2 separate regions of the Homo sapiens genome follow, and region 1 is linked to region 2. Evidence: promoter capture Hi-C in human tissues and cell types (Jung and others, 2019). All regions are on one chromosome and are shown on one strand. The core of a region is centred on a gene start or on the middle of the fragment in contact, and the rest is flanking DNA. Distances in the headings are between cores, read along the strand shown.

Region 1 (5,659 bases), core at 1,206-3,705, 490 kb before region 2:
CAGTCAACATGACCAGATAATTGGTAACATCACTTTCTGCTCAGTTAGCTTTTTTTTTTTTGAGACAAGTCTCACTCTGTTGCCCAGGCTGGAGTGCAGTGGCCTGTGATCTCAGCTCACTGCAACCTCCGCCTCCCAGGCTCAAGCAATTCTTGTGTCTCAGCCTCCCGAGTAGCTGGGATTACAGGCATGTGCCACCACGCCTGGCTAATTTTTTTAGAAACAGGGTTTCACCATGTTGGCCGGGCTAGTCTCAAACTCCTGACCTCAGGTGATCCGCCCACCTCAGCCTCCCAAAGTGCTGGGATTACAGGTGTGAGCCACCACGCCCAGCCTGCTCAGTTAGCTTTTTTAAGAAGGGCTAGCCGGGCGCGGTGGCTCACGCCTGTAATCCCAGCATTTTGGGAGGCCGAGGCAGGTAAATCTCGAGGTCAAGAGATCAAGACCATCCTGACCAACATGGTGAAACCCCGTCTCTACTAAAAATACGAAAATCAGCCGGGCATGATGGCGAGCGCCTGTAGTCCCAGCGACTCAGGAGACTGAGGCAGGAGAATCACTTGTACCCGGGAGGCGGAGGCTGCAGTGAGCCAAAATCAAGCCACTGCACTCCAGCCTGGCCACAGAGTGAGACTCCGTCTCCAAAAAAAAAAGTGCTGATGATCCGTCTAGCAACTTGGCATTTCTAGCTTTTTTGTTTGTTTTACTGAAAATTAATCTCCACCTGTCCTAACTTTCAAAGAGTCCCTGCCTCCTCTAAAAAGGGCCAGGCCTAGAAAAAGTACCTGGAGAAGTTAGGACCCGCCAACCCCCACCAGACCAATCTCAAACTCTTGGGAAAAAGCCTGAAATGATCCTTTTCCTTGGAATGTATTGACTGATTTAAAAGGAAATGGCTGCAGTTTGCACACCGACACTAAGCTCAAAAGCAAGACGGAGAATAAGCCAACTAGACTTGGCCTGGCTGGCTACTTAAAAAAAAAATTCCTCCCCGAGCTGGCAGGATATTGTCACCCTAAAAAGCAGTGGCAAAGATTCTCCTCTCACAAACATGGATAGCTTCCCCTTCCCTCTGACCGCTCCTGCCCACGTGGCCCTAGAGGCTGGGACCTTGTCAGTGACATGTGACTCGGTTGACACTCGTTTGACACAAAAACATGTGTCTGGCCAAGAGAAGCGGGTTTAAAAAATCTAAGAAACTTCCTCAGGCTTCATTTGCTCCCCCATTCCCAGTAGGGGAGACCTCGATGGGCAGGACCCAGAAACGTTCCATCTCCAGGAACAAACCCCCGCAACCTCAAACCAGGAAACATCAGGTCTCAAACAGCAGCCCAGAGAAAAGCACTCAGGTTTCTGTTCCTCTAAAGCATTCCCTCATGGTCACTCCTCCCTACCATGGACTTTGATTTCTGCAAACCAGATCCTCCACGCTAAAGCCAAATCGACTCCTAGCTCCTCCATGAAACTTTGCTTCCTCTTTGCTTCCTCCCAGAGAGAAGGTGGCAGGTTTAGGAGTGGGCTGCAGTGTTGAAATCAGGACTAGCTGACAGTTATTTTATCAAACCACATTCAGAAACGGTAGATACGAGGAAAAGGTTCAAAGATAAGCCGTAAGTAAAATTCCTGGAAGGAATGAGGAGTCCCGGTACTGCAGGAAAAGGGCGATGTCAATGATTCTCCCCATTTTACAGGATGGAAAACTGAGGCCTCAGATGGACAGGCACTTGTCCAAGTTCTGAGTCCTGGGACAACTGCAAAGCTCTTAAGGAAGAAGGGAGTCGCTTAAGGATCTGGAAGGCGGACCGGGTGGTGGCTGCCCACCCTGGTTCCCGAGGTGGAGGTTGGGGAGACCCAGCCGGCCCCGCCCATACCTTCCCTCCTGGTCCCGCCCACCCACCTTGGCCCCGCCTCGTACCTCCCTCGCTCCCATTGGCCCAGCCTCCCCAGGCCCGCCCCTTCGCGCTCCCGACATATAAAAGCCCCCCGCCCCGGCCTGCCGACCTCCACTCGCCGCGGGCCTGCGAGCGCCCGCCCCTCGCGGGGGCCGGGCCGCGGGGACGGGGGCGGGTGGTGTCGTTCCAGCCGGGCCCCGGCCCCCTCCCCCACGGTCCAGACAGTCGCCGCCGCCATTTTGACCGCCCGCCCCTTCCCCCCGGACTGTGATTACAGAGACACCTACTGCCCCGGCCCCGCCGCCCACCCCGGCCCGGCCAGCCACCCCGGGGCCGCCCTGGTTACCTCCGCTTCTCCCCACTTCTGTCTGCGGAAACGCTTTTCGGAGGTCTCGGAGTCGATGTTGGGAAGGGGACGGGACGTGCTGGGGTCCCCGGGCCGGGCCTGGGGGGTGGGGGTGGGGGTCGGCCGGGCGGTTGTTGTTGTTGACTCGCGTTGCCGGGTTGCTTGGTCGCCACGACTACCGTGGCTATGGCGCCTCCGTTTCCCTCACCGGGGCAACTGTTGCTACCCACCCTAGTTACGTCACGCGCGGGGGCGGGGCCCGGGGTGATTGGCGGCGGCCGGAGAAGTGATTGGACGGCGCCAGGCCTTGCAGCTAAACTATTAGTTCCGATGCACGCTTTTCAACACCCTCTGGACTTCCCGGCGATCTGATTTATCAGTATGAATGTCCATCAAAAGAAACTGAACCCTCAAAGGCAGCCGGGCCCGTCACTCCGGCAGGGAAGCAGCTGGTTAAGAATAAAGGGGTAGGACTCGTGAGGACGGGATTGGTTTGCCGATGTAAAACCGGCCTCCTGGTTCGACTAAAGGGACGTCAATCTACCAAAGGTTTGCCGCGCTCTCTGGCTGGAGGCCGTGCGCATGCTCGGCACGCAAGGCCGATTGGGAGTTGTAGTCCGCTCTTGCGTACACTTTACATGTCTTACCAAATTAAAAAGGCGAGAAAGGAAGACTCCGCTCCAGACTTCTCTCTCGCTCGGTGGGCCAGTTTCTGGCTTCTTGCGCTGACGTCAGGGGAGGAATGCAGTGACGCAGCGCAGCCCCTCTGTGACGACAGCGGCGAAGGCCGGACTCGGGATTCGATGACGTCACTGGGCGCGCGTCCCCCTTCCCCACTGCCCATGGCCCCGTCGGGGTTGGGTGGAAGCGGGAGGCCGCGGCGGGGTTCGATCCCAGCTCCCACCCGCTGGGGTGACATCCTCCTCCGCCCAAGCCGGCCAGACAGCGCGGCCGCCGCGCCTTCTCCCGCCTCCCGGTCCCCTCCAGCCGGAAAAGGTCACCGCTGCCGGGGTGACCGCGGCTATCTCTGCCCCGCAGGCGGTGCGGCCGCCTTGGGAAAGGTCTCTGCAAGGCGGGGGACTTCATTCGCGGCTTCAACCGCGGTAGATAAGCAAAGGTCAGCCCCGACCCAGCCCAGGGAGCTTGGTCCGCCCAGGAGAGCTCACCACAACCCCCGCCACACACACACACCTCCCACACATACGCTCCTCTGTGCCTCAGTTTCCTCAAGGGACTGTCTGGGTGCTGCAGGACGAGAAGAGACAGAAACAGGGCCCGGACTAGGGTGAACATCTTGGGAGCAAAAACTCAGTCATCAAGATAAATAATCTTCTAATTCAATATTTGTTAAATATCCAAATTAATGGGAAAAAATAAATCTATGATGAACAAAACATCACAATTTTAAATAAAGACAGGATCCGCCAACACAGGGATTAAGGTGAGATGCGTTATGCAAGCTCAGGGTCAGATCTTGTGTTTAAAATAAATTTATTATTATTATTTTTTGAGACGGAGTCTCACTCTGTCGCTGAGGCTGGAGTGCAGTGGCGCAATCTCGGCTCACTGCAAGCTCCGCCTCCCAGGTTCACGCCATTCTCCTGCCTCAGCCTCCCGAGTAGCTGGGACTACAGGTGCTCGCCACCACGCCCGGCTAATTTTTTGTATATTTAGTAGAGACGGGGTTTCACCGTGTTAGCCAGGATGGTCTCGATCTCCTGACCTCGTGATCCGCCCGCCTCGGCCTCCCAAAGTGCTGGGGTTACAGGCGTGAGCCACCACGCCCGGCCTACTTTTTATGTTTTAAATGTCAATTATCTTATGACTGAGCTCTTTGGCCTTCTCTTAAATTTTGCATTCTCATCCCAGGTAGGCCCTAGAACAGCAAGGGGAAAAGAAAACAGGCTCAGACAGCCCTGAAGTCTAATGCCAGCCCTGCTGTGTGGCATTCAGAAAGTGACTCCACCTAAGTTTGTTTCCTAATTCAACCAACATTATATTTCCTCGGTGCAAGGCCCTGGGCTATACAAGTGAAGAAAGGTGACTTCATTTATGGTGGCTCACACCTGTAATCCCAGCACTTTGGGAGGCCAAGCAAGGAAGATTGCTTGAGCCAAGGAGTTCAAGACCAGCCTTGGCAACAAAGCAAGACACCCGTCTCTACAAAAATTAGCTGGGCATGGTAGTGTATGCCTGTAATCCCAGCTACTCCGGAGGCTGAGGTAGGAGGATTGCTTGAACCCGGGAGGGGGAGGTTGCAGTGAACCAAGATTCTGCCACTGCACTCCAGCCTGGGCGACAGAGCGAGACTTTGTCTCAAAAAAAAAAAAGCAATTAGCTAGGCGTGGTGGCATGTGCCTGTGGTCCCAGCTACTCTGGAGGCTGAGGCTGGCAGGATTGGTTCAGCTCCGGAGGTAGAGGCTGCAGTAAGCAATGATTGTGTGGTCCAGCCTGAGTCTCAGAAAAAAAAGAAAAAAAGGAAAAAAAAGAAAGCAAACAACTCCCTTTGCATTCTAGGATGGGATACACAATAAACAGATAAATTGTAAGATAGGCTCCTTAGAGTCCTGAGAGCAACATAAGAGAGTGGGGTAGGAGAATGAGAGGATGCTGTAGCCAGTGTTATCTGAGGGGGGATGTCCCACAGAATGAGCCTGAGTGGTGAGAGACGAAGCAAGCCTCATAAATCCAGGTGGAGGGGCCGGTCATGATGGCTCATGCCTGTAATCCCAGCACTTTGGGAGGCCAAGTTCAGGAGTTCCAGAACAGTCTGGCCAACACGGCGAAATCCTGTCTCTACTAAAAATACTAAAATAGGTCGGTGTGGTGGCACGTGCCTGTAGTCCCAGCTACTGGGGAGGCTGAGGTGGGAGAATCACTTGAACCTGGGAGGCAGAGGTTGCAGTGAGCCAAGATCGCGCCACTGTACTCCAGCCTGGGCAACACAGTGAGACTCCGTCTCAAAAAAAAAAAAAAAAAACGGGGGGAGAGAACTGCCTTCAAAGCTGGGAACAGGAACTTCTGCTAAAGCCAGGAGAGATAAGGTTGTAGAGGTAATAATAGCCACATAATTCCCAGCGAACCCAGCAAAGTGGGACGCTCCCCGCTCTTGACAGGTGGGCAATGGATGCCCAGAGAGAGGAAGTAGGTGCCCTCTCTGCCAGAGGCGTGTGAACCAGAGCAACTCCATCTTGAACAGGAACTGGGTAAAATGAGGCTGAGACCTGCTAGGCTTCATTCCTAAATGGTTAAGGCATTCTTAGTCACAGGATAAGACAGGAGGTCAGCGCAAAATACAGTTCATAAAGACCTTGCTGGCTGGGTGCAGTGGCTCATGCCTATAATCCGAACAGTTTGGGAGGCGGAAGTGGGCGGATCACTTGAGGTCAGGAGTTCGAGACCAGTATGGAAAACATGGCAA
Region 2 (5,284 bases), core at 2,440-4,939:
CTGGGACTACAGGTGCCCGCCACCATGCCCAGCTAATTGTTTGTATTTTTAGTAGAGACGCTGTTTCATCATGTTAGCCAGGATGGTCTCGATCCCCTGACCTCGTGATCCACCTGCCTCGGCCTCCCAAAGTGCTGGGATTATAGGCGTGAGCCACTGCACCCGGCCTTGCTACTGCCATCTGTACCAAGATTCAAGCTTCCTCCTTTTCCCAAGATCCCTACATCCTGACCACCAATTCCCAGCCTCCTTACTCTCTCTCTCTGCCCACCCCACTGCCCTGGTTCATGCCAGCTTCCGTGTCCCCACCCGTGAGGAGGCATTAACAGCAGTGAGGAAAGTGAGTGAGTAATGAATCTGCCTGCCACGGCCATAAGAGGCTTCGTGGCCTGGGTTCAAATCCCACCCCTGCCACTTACCAGCTGTGTGGCTGGGGGGCAAGTCACTTCACATCACAGGGCCTCAGTTTCTTCATCTGAAAAATGGGTGGAATTCCTGTCACTCTCAAGGTGGTTGTGGAAATCCAAAGAGATTACCCACGTATCCCATCTACACTCTGCCTCAGACTCCATTTAAGGACGCTGTTGTCATTACTATGGGTGTCTCCTCCTCTGCCCTGCCCTGCCCAGGAATATCCCAACCCTCTCTGCCTGCCAATACCTACTCCAGGCCCACTCCTCCATGAAGCCTCCCAGGCTTGCCCCAGCATGCTGGAACTGCCCCTGTGGTACAGATGGCTCAGGCCCATGAACTTAATTGCATGCTGCCCTGGCAGAACTCTTGTCTTCCAGCTTCAGGCTGTCATTTAACTTCATGTCTCTATTTTAAAACGTAAACCAGATGGCATCACTGCCCTGCCTGAAACTTTACAACAGTTTCCCACCTTCTGGAAGAAAAACTGCAATCTCCTTACTGTGACCCACAAACCCCTGCAGAATCGCTGCTCTGGGTTCATCTTCTGCTCCAACCATGTGATTCCAAACTTGGTCCAGCCTAAAGACCTTGGCCTTGCCCATCTCTCTCTCTTTTTTTTTTTTCGAGATGGAGTCTTGCTCTGTCACCCAGGTTGGAGTGCAGTGGCGCCATCTCAGCTCACTGCAACCTCCACCTCCTGGGTTCAAACGATTCTTCTGCCCTAGCCTCCTGAGTAGCTGGGATTACAGGCACGCACCACCACATCCGGCTAATTTTTGTATTTTTATTTTGTATTTGTTTATTTTTATTTATTTATTTATTTTTGAGACGGAGTTTCATTCTTGTTGCCCAGGTTGGAGTGCAATGGCGCGATCTTGGCTCACCGCAACCTCTGCCTACCGGGTTCAAGCGATTCTCTCCTGCCTCAGCCTCCCATGTAGCTGTGATTACAGGCATGTGCCACCACGCCCAGCTTATTTTATATTTTTAGTAGAGACAGGGTTTCTCCATGTTGGTCAGGCTGGTCTTGAACTCCTGACCTCAGGTGATCTGCCTGCCTCGGCCTCCCAAAGTGCTGGGATTACAGGCATAAGCCACCACGCCTGGCCTATTTTTATTTTTTTTTGAGATGGAGTCTCGCTCTGTAGCCCAGGCTGGAGTGCAGTGGCACGATCTCAGCTCACTGCAACCTCCGCCTCCCGGGTTCAAGCGATTCTCCTGCCTCAGCCTCCTGAGTAGCTGGGCTTACAGGCGTGCGCCACCACACCCAGCTAATTTTCATATTTTTAGGAGAGAGGGGGTTTCACCATGTTGATCAGGCTGGTCTCAAACTCCTGACCTCTTGACCCACCTGTCTCAGCCTCCCAAAGTGCTGGGATTACAGGGGTGAGCCATGCCCCTAGCCAATTTTTGTATTTTTAGTAGAGACAGGGTTTCCCCATGTTGGCCAGGCTGGTCTCAAACTCCTGACCTCAAGCAACCCACCCGCCTCGGCCTCCCAAAGTGCTGGGATTACAGGCGTGAGCCACCGCGCCCGGGCCCCCTTGCCTGATCTTTGCTGGGCTGGCACCCCTTGCCCACAACTACTCTCTACAGTACCACCCGCTCATATTTTATTCATAGCAGTTAGTGCCATCTGAAATTATCTTCTTTATTTACTTGCTAACTTGTTTGTTGGCTGCTTCCTTCCTTTCAGAGTGCCAACTCCTCAAAAGTAGGGATTTTGTTTTGTTCACTGTTGCATTTTCTGTGCCAAGAACAGTGCCTAGCACATGCACGTAGCAGGTGCTCACTAAATATTTGTAGACTGAGTGAATGAATGTGTCTCAGGTCCTCGTTCTGATTGCTCTCTGTGCTCCCCATCCTTGAAACAGCCCCCTAAACATGCCTGCTGTGCGGTTGCCAACTGTCCTAGGCTCCCCACTTTCCCTGGCTCCCCTCACACCTGAACACAGAGATGAAGAGCCACTTCAGCCCGGATATTGAGTGTTTGGGCTGGAATTTCAGCATCCTCACCCCCTCATCCTGGGAAGGGCCTGAAACTTAGCAACCCCACGGCCACACAGAAGCAGTGTGGCCAGCAGGAGGAGGGGAAGGGGGTTCCTGGGAGCACACAGAAGCTAGGGGAAGGGGGAAACCACGCCCAGGCTCCCCGTTCCAGCACAGTGTTGCTTTGGAGAGAAGGAGGGAAAGAGGCCTCTGATTCACTCTTGAAAAACCGGCTCCTGGGTGTTTCCGGGGAGAACGCCTACTTCCCAGCCTCGGCCCAGGTTGCCAGGGGGGAACCCAGTGGGCCCAGACCCCAGCATCCTGGCCCCCTGCAGACGCCACTCTCTTCTCTGGACCCAGGTAGTTAGACCTGCCCTCTCCAGCTCTGGGGAGAAGGGAAAGGAGGGCAGCTTCCTGTTTGAGTGGCTGGTAAAGCAAAAGACCAGCAGGTGTGGCCCTGATGATGAGTACGGGGTAGGGGGTGGGAGGGGTAGGGGGCCGGAGCTACTCAGCAACAACTGAGCCGTGGAGTTATTGGTATCCAGTCTAGTGGGTGTGACTCCAGTTCTGGACCCTGGGGCATGAGTTCCAGTCCCAGATGTGCCAGTTACTAGCTGTGTGACCTTGGGCAAGTCACTCCACCTCTCTGGGTAGGCTGCCTCACCTTTTTTACAAGAAGGCACAGCACCTCCCATGAGGTGTTTAGAGTCAATTATCCTCATGGTAAATGCCTGACACGGAAGCTCTCCAATAAATGCTAGCTGAGGTGGAGTTTTTCATGACGATTATTATTCAGACCGTGGTCCTCACTGCGTCCCCCCCAAGGCCCTGGAGGGTTCAGACGCGGTTAGCTCAGGGGAAGTGCCCAGGAAAGGGTCAGAAACACTGACCCCGCGCCTGTCCACGCTGGGATGGGGACAGTCCAGCCGGGGGACGGGGGGAGGGGCAAGCCCAGAAACCCCAGCCCAGCGTTGGGAGGCGTTTGTCCCCTGCCCGCCAGCAGGAAGGGAGCTGCCCCCACCACCCCCCACCCCCGCTTCCCCTGGGAAGGGGCCTCCGGCATCCCCGCGCGCAGCCTAGACCTCCAGTCGCGTCCACGGCGCCGGCCCCACCCTGCAGGATCGGCCGGATCCTCGCAGGCCCGCGACCCCCGAGGCCCCCGGAGCAGACACATCCTTCTCGCAGAGGCCACTCACCTGCTCCGCCGCCGCCGCCGCCGCCGCCGCCGCCGCCGCTGCCTCCGCCTCCCCGTGCGCACCCGGCTCGGCCCTCCGCAAACTCCAGACCGGGCCTCTCCCGCAGCGGCGCCTGGGGGGCGGGGCCGACGCCCGCGGCCGGCCAATCAGCGGCTGCCTCTCGGTGCTCGCAGCCAATCCGCGTCTTCCGCTTCGGGTGGACCCGACGGAAACATTCCAGAGGGATCCCTCCGCCTCGCCCGGCTCTTCCCGACTCCTCCCCTCGCCGCGAAGCAGTGGACCGTTCCGCCCCGCCTAAGCCGCGGCTGGCTGTACCACCGGAGGGCTGAGGAGGGGGGGGAGCTGCAGCTGGGCCCCGGCCAATCGCGAGGGAGGAAGGAGACAAGCGGCCAATGGGAAGGAAGCTGGGGCCCCTGAACCACGTGCTGTCGGCTGAGTGTCAGTCTCGGGTGCCCTGGGTGGTGAGGGGCGGGGGAGTCAGGTGACCTAGGCCAGGTTTCGGGGAAAGGATTCGAACTTCCGACGTCCAGGAAAGCGGACAGTTTAGGAGACCTGGGTGGGGGTCAATGGCAGTCCCCAACCCAGTTCCCTGCCCGGCCTCCTCTGCCCCAGCCTGGCCATCCTCGGAGCGGATAAAAAGATGCATTCAATCTCTGGGGGCGGGCGGGGGATCGAGATGAATAGGGAGGGTCCCGAGTTTCCCTGCTTCCTGGGCTGTACAATGGACAAAGGCATTCATTCATTCATTCGTTCACTCACTCATCAAATATTTAATGTGCCAGACTGCTCCGTGCCAGACTCTGTCCTACCTCTGAAGACGCGTCAGTGAATAAGCTGAATGTGCTCCTGGTAGAGGTAACAGAGCGTGCAAAAGCCGGACAGAGAGATACAGCACGCTTTAGGATACTGCAATATCGTGGGAGCTAGTAAATCAGTGTGGAAAGGCAAGATGCAATGAAAGACAAGGGTGAGATAGTTTATCTGCTTGTTGGTTTGTTTATGTGCTAGGTCACAGAAGGTACCCAGCCAGCCTTTCATAGATCTGTCTCCTCCATCTGACTGTGAGGGTGGAGGCTGAGTCTCTCTTGTCAACCCCTCACTCCCACCTCAGGCTGCCACACGGCAGGTTCTCAGCAAACCTGTGTGGACAAATAGACCATGTAGTTTATAAGGAAGGGGGATTTATCAGGTGGACACAGATCCAAGAAACAAGAGTCACAAATGCACCTGGACCAGGCCAGGACGCTCAGTTCCCGGGACAAGTGAGATTTCCTTGTTCTAGTTCAAACCCAGCCACTTGGACAGCAACTGGGGCTGAATGCTGTGTGTTCTGGGAACTGTAGTTCCTGGAAGCCTCTAAGTGCTGAGACCCTGCTCAAGCTCCATAGAAAGACTGGTTCTTTGCAGTTCCCAGGGTGAGATGTTGTGCATATCAGTCCCACCAGGACCTGCAGAGGGGCAAACTAAAATGGGAGATGGAACCTTGAGCTTTGCTGCTGAGGATTGCCTAGCCAGCCCCACCCAGCTGGCAAACACCGAGATTGCTGTGGCAGGCCAGGCAACAGGCACAGCTATTGTCCGTCCCTTCCTGTTCTGCTGACCTCTGCCATCCCACTGAGCAATCAGTTGCCTGGGCTGGCCAGTACCCTCTGTGGGACTGTGCTGCCTGCCCTGCTTGAGCCTGG

Evidence for each region. The method cuts DNA at HindIII sites, captures the fragments that hold promoters and counts their contacts. A contact is called where the count stands out against the background at its distance.
Region 1: a contact is called between the fragment with the promoter of RFX1 here and the fragment with the promoter of GIPC1 in region 2, in 2 of the 25 tissues and cell types used here (dorsolateral prefrontal cortex and spleen).

The regions. Positions count from the first base shown.
Region 1 is chr19:14,003,865-14,009,523 of GRCh38, forward strand. It overlaps RFX1 (regulatory factor X1), which reads right to left and starts at 2,456. Exons shown (of 21, transcript NM_002918.5): 1 at 2,239-2,456. RefSeq lists enhancers at 1,682-2,210, 2,211-2,738, 2,739-3,266 and silencers at 1,878-2,257, 2,308-2,487. The HindIII fragment of the contact is 30,728 bases long and covers 1-5,659 here.
Region 2 is chr19:14,492,438-14,497,721 of GRCh38, forward strand. GIPC1 (GIPC PDZ domain containing family member 1) reads right to left here and starts at 3,690. Exons shown (of 9, transcript NM_005716.4): 1 at 3,600-3,690; 2 at 420-475. RefSeq lists enhancers at 3,005-3,931, 5,212-5,284 and silencers at 3,594-3,823, 3,964-4,023. The HindIII fragment of the contact is 12,252 bases long and covers 1-5,284 here.